Linked DNA regions of Homo sapiens: regions 2, 3 and 4 are each linked to region 1. The links are contacts of gene promoters, found by promoter capture Hi-C in blood cells and fetal thymus (Javierre and others, 2016). All regions are on one chromosome and are shown on one strand. Each heading gives the region's core, a stretch centred on a gene start or on the middle of the fragment in contact. The rest is flanking DNA. Distances are from core to core; before and after follow the strand shown.

The links. The method cuts DNA at HindIII sites, captures the fragments that hold promoters and counts their contacts. A CHiCAGO score of 5 or more calls a contact.
Region 2: a contact is called between a fragment that was not itself captured here and the fragment with the promoter of RAPH1 in region 1, in 1 of 17 cell types (M0 macrophages). The highest score is 5.3, in M0 macrophages.
Region 3: a fragment that was not itself captured here is called in contact with the fragment with the promoter of RAPH1 in region 1 in 3 of 17 cell types (non-activated CD4 T cells, total CD8 T cells and naive CD4 T cells); the score reaches 5.3 in non-activated CD4 T cells.
Region 4: a fragment that was not itself captured here is called in contact with the fragment with the promoter of RAPH1 in region 1 in 1 of 17 cell types (monocytes); the score reaches 5.0 in monocytes.

The regions. Positions count from the first base shown.
Region 1 is chr2:203,533,856-203,536,935 of GRCh38, forward strand. It overlaps RAPH1 (Ras association (RalGDS/AF-6) and pleckstrin homology domains 1), which reads right to left and starts at 1,446. Exons shown (of 14, transcript NM_213589.3): 1 at 1,256-1,446. RefSeq lists silencers at 1,215-1,314, 1,385-1,474, 1,525-1,594. The HindIII fragment of the contact is 18,695 bases long and covers 1-3,080 here.
Region 2 is chr2:203,784,825-203,787,904 of GRCh38, forward strand. No RefSeq gene overlaps it. Among named protein-coding and RNA genes, the nearest start is that of CD28, 80 kb to the left of the region's middle. The HindIII fragment of the contact is 2,570 bases long and covers 194-2,763 here.
Region 3 is chr2:203,745,603-203,748,682 of GRCh38, forward strand. No RefSeq gene overlaps it. Among named protein-coding and RNA genes, the nearest start is that of CD28, 41 kb to the left of the region's middle. The HindIII fragment of the contact is 3,216 bases long and covers 1-3,080 here.
Region 4 is chr2:203,686,993-203,690,072 of GRCh38, forward strand. No RefSeq gene overlaps it. Among named protein-coding and RNA genes, the nearest start is that of CD28, 18 kb to the right of the region's middle. The HindIII fragment of the contact is 2,782 bases long and covers 264-3,045 here.

The sequences.
Region 1 (3,080 bases), core at 196-2,695:
ACATCTGGGGAGGTAAACAGGTGGTGTTATTCCCATTTTACTGATAGGGAACGTACTGCAGAGTTCAATAGCTTATCCAACTCACATTGCAAGCCAATTCCAGGGCGTACGGTTTCCCCCACTCCGAAGAGCTCTTTCCACCACCCCATGCTTGTTCACCTGGTGTCACCCAGCCTAACTGACAGAGTAGGTATTCCATAAATGTTTGCTGAATTTAATATCCCCATGGACTGACTCTTTAATAATCCGATCACGCCTCATCCCTAACCCGTTACCTTTACTGTTCCTTAACGGTGGACTTTACCTACATAAGCAGCTCTCCACATTTCCCTGAGAAATGCTGCAGACAACATCAACCCTTATTGGAAGATTGAGTGAAGAACTTTTCCATTCTCCCGGATTTCCCCAACGGATCTTCCCAAAGAATTTAAGAAATGCACACACGCAAGACACATGTAACACTTACACCCTCCCTCAAGGCTCTTATTTCATATTAAACCATGTCTTCGAGCTTGTAAGCAATAAGGTTTATGCGGTTTCCAGCTCACACAGTGGGGACACCCTAAGTCACTGCCTTAAGAAAACCACATCTTTCAACCTGTCTTAACACGAAGGCATCCTAATACTATCACACTGCCCCCTCCCTCCGTCCACCCCCCCCCCCCCCCCATGAATTGCAGTTTGGATTTCCGGCGGGAATGTATAATACAGACCGCAAGAGGAGACGCGGTTAAAAAGCAATGAAGCAATTACTTATCCTGTTTAATTAGAAAGAAGACACAGAAGGAGCCCCGCCTTTCAAAATCTCTGCACTGAACTCATCTATGAAAGATGGGGGCATCGAAACCCAAGCAACCCGACATCCAGTAGCTGGTTTCTGCAGCTGGGCGGGGGAAAGTCCTTTCCTCCCTGCGGTCCCGGGCCACCAGCCCCCGGTGCTGGGTCGGAGAAGCCTAACCGCACCCTCCCAGGCGGCCCCTTATCTCATTGTCTCCCTCCGTCGCGGTCCCCAGGGGCGCAGGGTGCAGTCCAGGCCCCACCGACCTCCATCCACCAGCCGGGAGCGGTCCAGCCAGCCCCGGCCCGATCCCCAACCTGGCAACGACCCCGCCCCAGGCTGCCGCCGACCGTACCGCACCCGGATGGCGGGGCCGGGCGCCGGGAAAATGGAGGCGGGAGCGGCAGGAGCGCCTCACGGCCCCGCGCCCAGCCGGCTCCCTACCCCCTGGCCCCGAGGGCGAGGCTAACCACTCACCGCGGCAGTCGGTCGGCCTTCCCGCGGCCCCGGGCAAGGAAACCGCCGCTCGCGCTCCTCCAGCCGCTGCCTCCGCCTCCTCCCCAGGCGCGGCGCTCCCTCGCCAGAGACGCAGCGACTGCCAGCAGCTCCCGCGCCGCGCGCTCAGTGACTGACTGACTGACTGACTGACTGACTGACTGACTGACTGGCGGGCGGCGGCGGGAGCGGGGGCGGGGCGGCCGCAGCGCCCCGCGGCGGCGGCGGCGGCGGCGGAGCCGAGTGTGCTCGCGTCCAGCCGAGACGCAGAAGGCGGGGTTGAGGGCCGGACTGCCGACTGTAGGGCCGACTCGCGCGGGACCGCGCGCCGCCCCCGCCCGCCGCCAACCACTCACTTCCGGCGCAGGCCGCCGCGCCCGCCGCCCTTCCCTAGCCCGCGCCCCGCGCCGGCCCTCCGCCCTCCCTTCAGGCGCCCGGCCGCGCCCGGCCGCACTCAACCGCGGCTCCGCTCGTGCCTCGCCTTTCCTCCGCAAGTCCCTGTGAGCCGCCTACAGGAACGAGTGAATCAGAGAATGAATGAGTGGGGAGGAAAATCCCAGTGCTGCCCCACCCCCTGCTCGCCTTTCATAGGAAGCCGGCCCAGCAGCCTCTGTCCTAGCGCCCTGGGAGGCACAGCAGCCTCCAGCAGTTCTGTCAGGGAGCTGTACGCATCCACCTTTATACGCTGTCCGTGTATTCAGAGACTCCAGAAACGCATCCGGGGTTGGCTCGGTCACTTACAGGACCATTGTCGTTGAGATCTGTGAGGCCCTTCTTTAGGAAATCCCATTTTGGCCAAAAAGTCTCTGCAGTTTCATGGAATGTATTGGGAAACTTAGGAACGGGACATTTCGATGACCTTTACTTTTTAAACTTCGAAATCTGTTAATCCTGCCTCCTTAATTTCTGTCCCCCCACCCCATCGGAATTGTGTAGTAGTAAGGTGTCGGCATTTTTCCTTATCGCTAAGCTCAGCTGCTGCCTCTTTAGATGCAGGCTTGACTTCGGCAGACTTTTAGATTTTAAGTATGTCCTTATTTTGACCTTCACCTAAAGTTGATCAAAGAAAGGAACAAATGGAACTAAGTTATGTTTGCTTGGCTACATGCAAAGCAAGTTTGTTGACAGCATTAAAACAATTGAGAAATTGGGAGTGTGACCTGAAATTGGTTGCAATGAACATTGCTTTTTCATGTCTTCCCATCTGCTTGCTAAGAATTTATTTAAATTTTCACAAAGCATTGACTGTACATTCCTGAAATCCTAGCTCCCTCTCTAAGAATGAGAGTGTTCATTTCTCTGTCCTGGGGCCAAATCCTGGTTTGGTTAATTACATTCTTACTTCCTGATATTCTTGAGGACTTTCAAGTGGTTTCAGTCTTTTTTGTACAATCTGTTCCAAACTGGTACACAATCTGTTTCAAATTGGTATTTAGAACCATACAATACAGATACTGGCTGCCTTTCACACTTGAGATATCTGTACTTTTGAAACATAACTGCCCTTTTGTATTTTAAGTTCAGTAGGTATGTCAATATTCTTGTATAGAATAATACTATCTCTTGACTGGATTAAGAAAATGTGGCACATATACACCACGGAATACTATGCAGCCATAAAAAAGGTTGAGTTAATGTCCTTTGTAGGGACATGGATGAAGCTGGAAACCATCATTCTCAGCAAACTATCGCAAGGACAGAAAACCAAACACCACATGATCTCACTCATAGGTGGGACTTGAACAATGAGAACACTTGGACACAAAGCAGGGAATATATCACACAGGGGCCTGTTGGGGGGATGGAG
Region 2 (3,080 bases), core at 229-2,728, 250 kb after region 1:
GACCTTCGCAGTGAGTGTTACAGCTCTTAAGGCAGCGCGTCTGGAGTTGTTTGTTCCTCCTGGTGGGCTCCTGGTCTCGCTGGCTTCAGGAGTAAAGCGGCAGACCTTCACGGTGAGTGTTACAGCTCATAAAAGCAGCGTGGACCCAAAGAGTGAGCAGTAACAAGATTTATTGCAAAGAGCGAAAGAACAAAGCTTCCCCAGTGTGGAAGGAGACCCGAGTGGGTTGCCACTGCTGGCTTGGGCAGCCTGCTTTTATTCTCTTATCTGGCTCTACCCACATCCTGCTGATTGGTAGAGCCCAGTGGTCTGTTTTGACAGGGTGCTGACTGGTGTATTTACAATCCCTGAGCTAGACACAAAGGTTCTCCAAGGCCCCACCAGAGTAGCTAGATACAGAGTGTTGATTGGTGCATTCACAAACCCTGAGCTAGACACAGGGTGCTGATTGGTGTGTTTACAAACCTTGAGCTAGATACAGAGTGCCCATTGGTGTATTTACAATCCCTGAGCTAGACATAAAGGTTCTCCAAGGCCCCACCAGAGTGGCTAGATACAGAGTGTCGATTGGTGCATTCACAGACCCTGAGCTAGACACAGGGTGCTGATTGGTGTATTTACAATCTCCGAACTAGACATAAAGGTTCTCCACTTCCCCACCAGATTCAGGAGCCCAGCTGGCTTCACCCAGTGGATCCCGCACCGGGGCTGCAGGTGGAGCTGCCTGCCAGTCCAGGTGTCGTCCGCCGGCACTCCTCAGCCCTTGGCTGGTCGATGGGACTGGGCACCGTGGAGCAGGGGGTGGCGCTCATCGGGGAGGCTCGGGCCGCACAGGAGCCCACGGAGGGGGTGGGAGGCTCAGGCATGGCGGGCTGCAGGTCCCAAGCCCTGCCCCGCGGGAAGGCAGCTAAGGCCCGGTGAGAAATCGAGCGCAGTGCCGGTGGGCCGGCACTGCTGGGGGACCCAGTACACTCTCCGCAGCCACTGGCCTGGGTGCTAAGCCCTTCATTGCCCAGGCCCGCAGGGCCGGCCGGCTGCTCCGAGTGCAGGGCTCGCCAAGCCCACGCCCACCCGGAACTCCAGCTGGCCCACAAGCGCCGCGCGCGCAGCCCCGGTTTCCGCTTGCGTCTCTCCCTCCACACCTCCCTGCAAGCTGAGGGAGCCGGCACCGGCCTTGGCCAGCCCAGAAAGGGGCTCCCACAGTGCAGTGGTGGGCTGAAGGGCTCCTCAAGTGCCACCAAAGTGGGAGCCCAGGCAGAGGAGGCGCCGAGAGCGAACGAGGGCTGTGAGGACTGCCAGCACGCTGTCATCTCTCAATAGGATGCAGGTCAGAGGGCAGGGGTAAGAGGGAAAAACACCTGATTGCTTCTAAGAGTCTAAACGAAGGACACATCCCACCAGTGGTGGTGCACCATGAAGCATTTGAAGGTCCATATAAGACATTTCGAAGCCATGAATCTTGTTTGTTTATTAAAATTTTTTTTTGTTATACCGGAGCATAGAGATCTATCTTGGGGCAAAGTTTCAGAAAATAAGTAAAAGTCCAGTTTTCTAGATTCAGAACTATCAAAGGCTAGACAATGGCAATCAATAATAATGCTCCCCTCCATACCAATTTGAAAAGTTAAAAATTTTATCAGACATGCAGATGTCTTCACATTATGAAACAATTGTAACATTTTTTTCTCCTTCATTAAATGGCCGATTTGACAGCTGTTTCAACTCAACACTCTTATTTTGATTATTTGTTATTCAACATTTGGCCCTGATAGTATTGTCAATTCTAAAGTGCTAAGACTATATTTAAATCAACGGAAATATTTTGGTTATGTTTTATTTACGGGACTTTTCTCTGCTTGTCTTTTAACCTCCCTTAATAGCAGGCAGCCAAATTATTAGCTCATCTATTTTGGCAGAATAAAACAATTCATGGTTTAAAGAGTTTGGAAAAGGTAAAACTTCAGAGAAATATAACAACATCCAGCTTACAATGCTGTTTGTGTACTTTCTATAGGATGTGTAGCTTCATCCTGTAGGAGGATTTCCTCCATTTGAATCCCCAAGGCCTCTGACTGATTTCCCTCTTCCTTTGGTGCTGTTTGTGTTTAAAAAATAATGCCTGAGGGAAAGATAACCATCGTTCTGTTGCTTTGTGGACACATGCATTCTCATACAATTTCTGTTCCCTATTCCTTGTCAGTGATGAGATGAAGAATTGAGTGTAAGCACATCAAAATTGCACAGTAAGTGGTCAGGAGTCTTTCAAATAGCGCTAAAAGAGGCTGAATTGCCAGTGAGGAAGGCGCAGCTGGAAGCTAGATATTGCATCATCTGGCCTTCCTCTGCTGAACAAAGAAAATTATTTTGTGAAGTATGTACAGATGCTCTTATTTCAAGTGACATAATGCATTTGTTTCAATGGAGGTTTTCAATCTGCAACTTTGAAACTTTTCTGCATGTGGAAAACCCCATGACAATTCGTTGTACCCTAGGGTACATCTGAAAGAAAATTGTTGGATCTTAAAGCCAAACCAGCAATTTGGACAAACTTGGAGGATTATTTTTCTGGGATGTTTCCATTTAATATTACAACACAGAGGTTCTGCATTTATGTCAAAAGGGAAGGACTAGAAAAAGGCTTTCTGTAGGCCATGAAACTAGTTATGCTTTGCGATTGTAAATCCATATTGACCACTATAATTCAAGTGTTTAACTTGCATATTCTTAGAAACTGAATTTTTCAGAAAAGCAAGCATCAATATAAGCTTCTAAAATCAAAGCTAATTTAGTCATTTATTTATGACTACCAGGTTGAAGCTTCCTTTAAAAATCCTATTTCATACAGAGCAACAAAAACAGATGACAAAATCTAAATATTTTTACGTTTATTCTAAAGATTGGTGAAAAGTATATTGCTGGATATTTTATCACCATGAGTTAATTGCTCGAGAAATAACCTCCAGATTTAATAAAAGAAAAGAGGAGGTTCTTCATGAGCTAGTTAAAATCATGGATATGCCCCATAACCCACTTCTGTCAGGTAGCAAGGTTGCTTATGGAAAGAAGAGCCAAAGAAATTG
Region 3 (3,080 bases), core at 247-2,746, 210 kb after region 1:
ATGGATAAATGAATGACTATCTTTCATTTGATAAATATCCGCAAGCTATTTTGGTTTTTGACAAATTAGACGAAACAGGTATTATGAAAAGACTTGGGAAAATTGAGGACAAATTAGTTAACTAGATACTATGAAAAGACTTGGGAAATTCATATTTTTAAAATTATTGAAATGTATTAATTAATATGCATTTTAAGACATTGTTTAGGCATTCAGAAGCAAAAACTGTTTATCCTTCCTTGGCAACAAACAGAACTCTAATTGTGTTCAGTTATCTACTCTCCATGTGCTCTGGGGAGTTCCAGGGAGTGGATAAGGATTAGTTTAAGCCAGAATGGTAGTCCTAACCTTCTCATCAGTGATTGGTTTAGGCATGGACACATGATAAAATTCTGACCAATAGCCTGACGGGTCTCTGATAAAGTTTCTTTTTGCTCTTTTTTTTATTTTGAGACAGTCTCACTCTGTTGCCCAGGCTGGAGTGCAGTGGTGCCATCTTGGCTAACTGCAACCTCACTGCAACCTCCAGCTTCCTGGGTTCAAGCAATTCTTGTGCCTCAGTCTCCTGAGTAGCTGGGACTACAGGCATGTACCACCATGCCTGGCTAATTTTTGTATTTTTAGTAGAGACAGGATTTCACCATGTTCGCCAGGCTGGTCCCGAACTCCTGACCTCAAGTGATCTACTTGCCTCGGCCTCCAAAGTGCTGGGATTACAGGTGTGAGCCACCGTGCTCAGCCTCTCCTTGCTCTTTAAAAAGAGATGTTTGGAAACAAAGTTTCCTTTCTGCTATAGAATGTTATGTCTGCAAGCAGCATCTGATATAGCCTCTTTGCGACCAGGGGAGGAATTGGCCTGAGAACATGCTGAGGCAGGAAGAGCAGAAAGAGGGGAGGAACCTGGATCTTGGTGACATTATTGAGCTGCAGATTGAGCCGACTTGAATTCTCCTTGCTTCCTTCCTTCCTTCCTTCCTTCCTTCCTCCCTTCCTTCCTTCCAGTTCTTGTCATGTGAGACAGTAAATAACTTTATTGTTTAAGCCCTTTTGGGTTAGATTTTCTATTACATGAAGTTTAAAGCATTCTGATAACTTCATGTTTATTGATGTGTATAAATACTAATATATTCTATTATTTGGGGGATACAAAGAATTTGACTCAATAGTATCTTGTTCTATTGACATGTTCAATTATTAATCACTGATAACCCTGAATAACTAAATGTTATTACCACATTTAGGACAATATCCACGTCCACTGACATATGAAATTTGGGCAATTTGCTTCTTTGGGAAGCATTATAAATCACAGAACAGCAGAGGATACAAAGACCCCCACAAGAGATCATCAAGATTTTCTTCTTCCCTTCTTTTTGTCATACACATTGCTGAGAAGGAGCACCTCCAGGAAGGAACCAAATTATTTGTATTTTTCTGTTATTTTTAGTTTTGAGACCCGGTCTCACTCTGTCACCCAGGCCGGAGTGCAGTGGTACAGTGGCTCACTGCAACCTCTGCCTCCCAGGTTCAAGCAATTCTCCTGCATCAGCCTCCCAAGTAGCTGGGATTACAGGTGCCCACCAGCACGCCCAGCTAATTTTTGTATGTTTTCAGTAGAGATGGGGTTTCATCATGTGGCCGGGCTGGTCTCGAACTCCTGACCTCAAGTGATCTGCCCGCCTCAGCCTTCCAAAGTGCTGAGTTTACAGGCATGAGCCACCAAGTCCAGCCAATATTTGTATTTTGAATTAAAGTATGTATGTGAAAAATGAGAACACTGGCTCACTTCCTGGTAATATAAAATACAACATATCAGTAAAATCTTCCATGATTCTCCTAGTTCAGTGATCTCTTTCTACCCCTGTGTTACCTAATGCTGGCCTAAACTCCAGCGGCCTGTAGAGGAGATTGGTTTTTGTAGTTGTAAAATAATATTTTAGGCTGGGTGTGGTGCCTCATGCCTGTAATCCCAGTACTTTGGGAGGCTGAGGCGGGCAGATCACGAGGTCAGGAGATGGAGGCCAACATGGTGAAACCCTGTCTCTACTAAAAATACAAAAATTAGCTGGGCGTGATGGTGCGTGCCTGTAATCCCAGCTACTTGGGAGGCTGAGGCAGGAGAATCGCTTGAACCTGGGAGGCGGAGGTTGCAGTGAGCCGAGATGGCGCCACTGCACTCCAGCCTGGGCAACAGAGCGAGACTCTGTCTCAAAAAAAAAAAAAGTCACGTTTAAAAATTCAAAGTATACTTATATTTAAAATTTTCTAATAATGAAATGTTATCATAAGACCAAAGTAGATGTACTGGGCCTGGATCTTCATCCTTTCAGTCTGTCTTTGATTCTGACAGTGGCACCTCCAGCAACATTGATCTTCTCTGGGGGCCCTGGGATAACACATTAGCTTCTAGAATGGCTTGGGGATTTCCTGCTTGTGTCCTATGAAAAGGACACAAACTGGCCACACATGTGTTCAGTCTAGTGATGGGGACTGAGAAGGACAGAAAGAGATTTGACAGAGTTTTGACCTTAGCAATTTACTACTTGGTTGGGGAAATAACTCGTCATAAAGGTAGTATATACTAAGCTCTAATTAAATGATATACAATTCAAGTTCAGAGGTGAAAGACTATTGTGGACTGGAATTCCAATCTGGCCCTGAAAAGCAATACACAGCTTTTCAAACTTGTGGGAAATAGAATAGCTTTGAGAAGGAGTACTTGCATTTTTAATTTTTAGAAATATTGCCAATTTGCTTTGCACAGAGGTTATATTGATATACAGTCCCATCAGTCACGTATGAGAGAGCCTTTTACCCTATTTATTCTCATTAGCACAGTGTTAACATGTTTGATCTTTGCCAGTTTGATAGTTTGAAATGATATTTTATCATTGAGTTGATTTGTGTTTCATTTTTATGAATCAGATTCATCATCTTTTCATTTCTCATAAGAGTCTTTTTTTTTTCTGTGAACTGTCTACTCATATCCTCTGCCCATTTTTTTTTCAGTTGTATTGTCAGCTTTTTAATGTAGAATCACTTCAAAGAAACTATTCCTTTGCTTGTAACTCCTTCATTTT
Region 4 (3,080 bases), core at 405-2,904, 150 kb after region 1:
AAATAACTGTCAGGAGGAAGGAAAAGGCCTGGGATGAGTAAAGGGGAAGAACATTTTAGAGGAAAAAAACTCATGTTAAAGACCTCAGGCCTAAAATAAATTGGTGTTTTAGAGGCTAGAGAACAATGCCCATGAGTCTATAGCAGAGTGAGTGAGGGGGTGAGTGTGTCCTAACTGGCAGAAGTCCTCTAAGGATTTTTGGATCTATTGTCAAGGACAGTATATCAAATGGTAGATGTTGACTGTTTGCAGAGCGCTCAGGAAGCTTTACATCATTATCCACAGCAAGAGGTCTGAGCTTGAGTGTGGTCCTCCCACTGCACATGTAATCTCAGATACTACATGTTCTACCTTGCTGAGTAATAGTAAGTAGAATGGAATGTTGGACTTTATCTAAAATGTGGGAGTAAAACAAGTACATGTGAAACTGCAGAGCTTATCATTCTGGTCCAGGTATCATGAGGAAAGGAGAAAACCATGGTTGGGAGCGGCCATCCACACCCAACTAGTATTTGGAACTGGAGGCTACAGAGAATTCTGCTACTGAGGTCTACAATGTTATTTGCCCTTTCTGCTCCTTGATCTTTCACTGCATAAACCATCTGGGAAGTGTCCTTTATGGTTGTCATTAAAATGCTGCCAGATTCCAGTATTGAGACCATAGGGAATGCAGTAGTGTGCGTGTGTGTGTTTGTGAGTGTGTATGTGTGTGTGCCATCCATGTGTGGGTAGATGAGATGCTGATGGGAACCGGATATACTAATGTATTCAGGGGTTCTTAACTAGGTGTCCAATGTAAACTTGGTTGAGAAAAAAATTATACCTTCCTTTTCATTATCCTCTCCAACTGAAATTTAACATTTCAATGATATATTTAAGTAACAAACCACAGTATTTTTTGCAGTACTTGTCACTTTGTCATCAATAGAATCACAGATATTTTCATGTCACATTATAGTTGTTCCAAGTATCTCAAAATATTACTTATGCTTACCACTACTTCAAAATTATGGTAGTTATCGGCTGGATGCGGTGGCTCACGTCTGTAATCCCAGCACTTTGGGAGGCCGAGGCGGGTGGCTCATGAGGTCAGGAGATTGAGACCATCCTGGCTATGGTGATACCCCGTCTCTACTAAAAATACAAAAAATTAGCTCGGCGTGGTGGCGGGGCCTGTTGTCCCAGCTACTTGGGAGGCTGAGGCAGGAGAATGGCATGAACCTGGGTGGTGGAGCTTGCAGTGAGCCGAGATTGTGCCACTGTACTCCAGCCTGGGCAACAGAGCGAGACTCTGTCTCAAAAAAAAAAAATTATGGTAGTTATCATACCATAGCTAGATTTAATATGTTAATGAAGCATATTTATTACTATATCATGAACATTTGTTTTTAAAAAAATATTTGAAAACTACATTTCAAAACTTTCAGTTTTCTTTGCAATCCAATGTATTTTATTTTATGCATTTCAAAACATGATTGTGAGAAGGGGTCTTTAGGCTTCCAGACCACCAAAGGGGTCCCTGACACAAAAAAGGTTAAGAGCTGTCAGACTTATTGGACATAGTCTTGCCAGGTGGATGTAAGAGGAATGTTGGGGACAAAATGCCCGCATATCCACTTTCATATGAGACTTTTTTTGCATACTGACTGAGTAGAAAAAGGGAAAAGGCAATAAGTACTTAACCTCATGCTTGCACAGAAACACATACATAACTTTGTCCAGCTTGTAGACTGAATTTCTGAGAAATAAAAAGACAGTAATAGATCTAGAGAGCTTAGAGAGAGATCTGCGAGAACAAACCCACAATCTTGGGTACATATTGTGCATTTCCATAAACCTTCCCTAAGTAGAGATCTGGGAAAAGAATGGACATAATTTTCTCGAAACTCTGACCTCTAGGACCTGGAGAAAGTCCATTCAGCCAGCCAGAGCCCTCCCTATTCCCTTGGGCGGTAGCCTCAGAGTCCTCTGGGACAACATCTGCAAGCGGAATGCAAATCACTAGCCTGTCTGCCACCCCTCATTGCTCAGCACCTTATGGTTGCTATTTTTAGGAAGTCCGAATTTCTCAATAGAGACACAGCATCACCAGCAAGCCCTGAGAAGTTAGCCTTGTTTCCCAAATGTCTGAGGGTGGACCCAGAGTAAACACTCCACCTTCACTCCCTTCTGCTGAAATTAAAATGCTTCTATTTCTGCAGCTTGAAGGGAGGAAAGAGAGAGGGAAGAAGAAATGTTTGTTCATTTCTTCAGGTATTTTAGAAATTGAACTTGCAAGCAGGGTCTGTCTCCAGTTAATCAAATAAAAATTCTTCTTAGTATCACAAGACAATTTAAAACTAGAAAAACTCAGAAACTGCATCTGACAAAGGTCTAATGCCCAGAATCTATAAGGAACTTAAATAATTCAACAAGCAAAAAAGAAACAACCCCATTACAAATTGGGCAAAGGACAGAGACTTCTCAAAAGAAGACGTACATGCAGCAAACAAGCATATAAAAAATCCTCAACATCCCTAATCATCAGAGAAATGCAAATCAAACCACTATGAGATGCCATCTCACATCAGTCAAAATGGCTATTATTAACAAGTCAAAAAATAACAGATGTTGGCAAAGTGGCAGAGAAAAGGGAACACATACACTGGTGGCAAATGAGGCCATTCACTCACCCCCATCCTCCACTTCCCACCCTCCACCACACAAACCGAACGATGGTTTCTGATAATGCCCCTTTCACTCATTCACACAGTCTGGCGGAAGCTCATTCTGAAGTGATGGTTTAATCGCAAAGAGCAAGAAGCCAGAGTCAAAGAATCCATCAGCTTTTCCAAGATTACAATCTTAGACTGGAAGGATTGTGTTTGAATCCTTTTCTGCTACTTACTAGATCTTTCCATCTATCAAATGGAATAATAATAATTACTCCTATACAGTAGTTCTGTGAGATAACATGTGTGAATTGAAAAGTGCCTGATCAACGCTAGTTAATGTATAACTGCTATAACTTCTGTTTTCCTAGACAAGTGTGATAGTCTCAAAGGAAGCTTGCTCCTGTTTAATGAATGCTAAAGTATTAT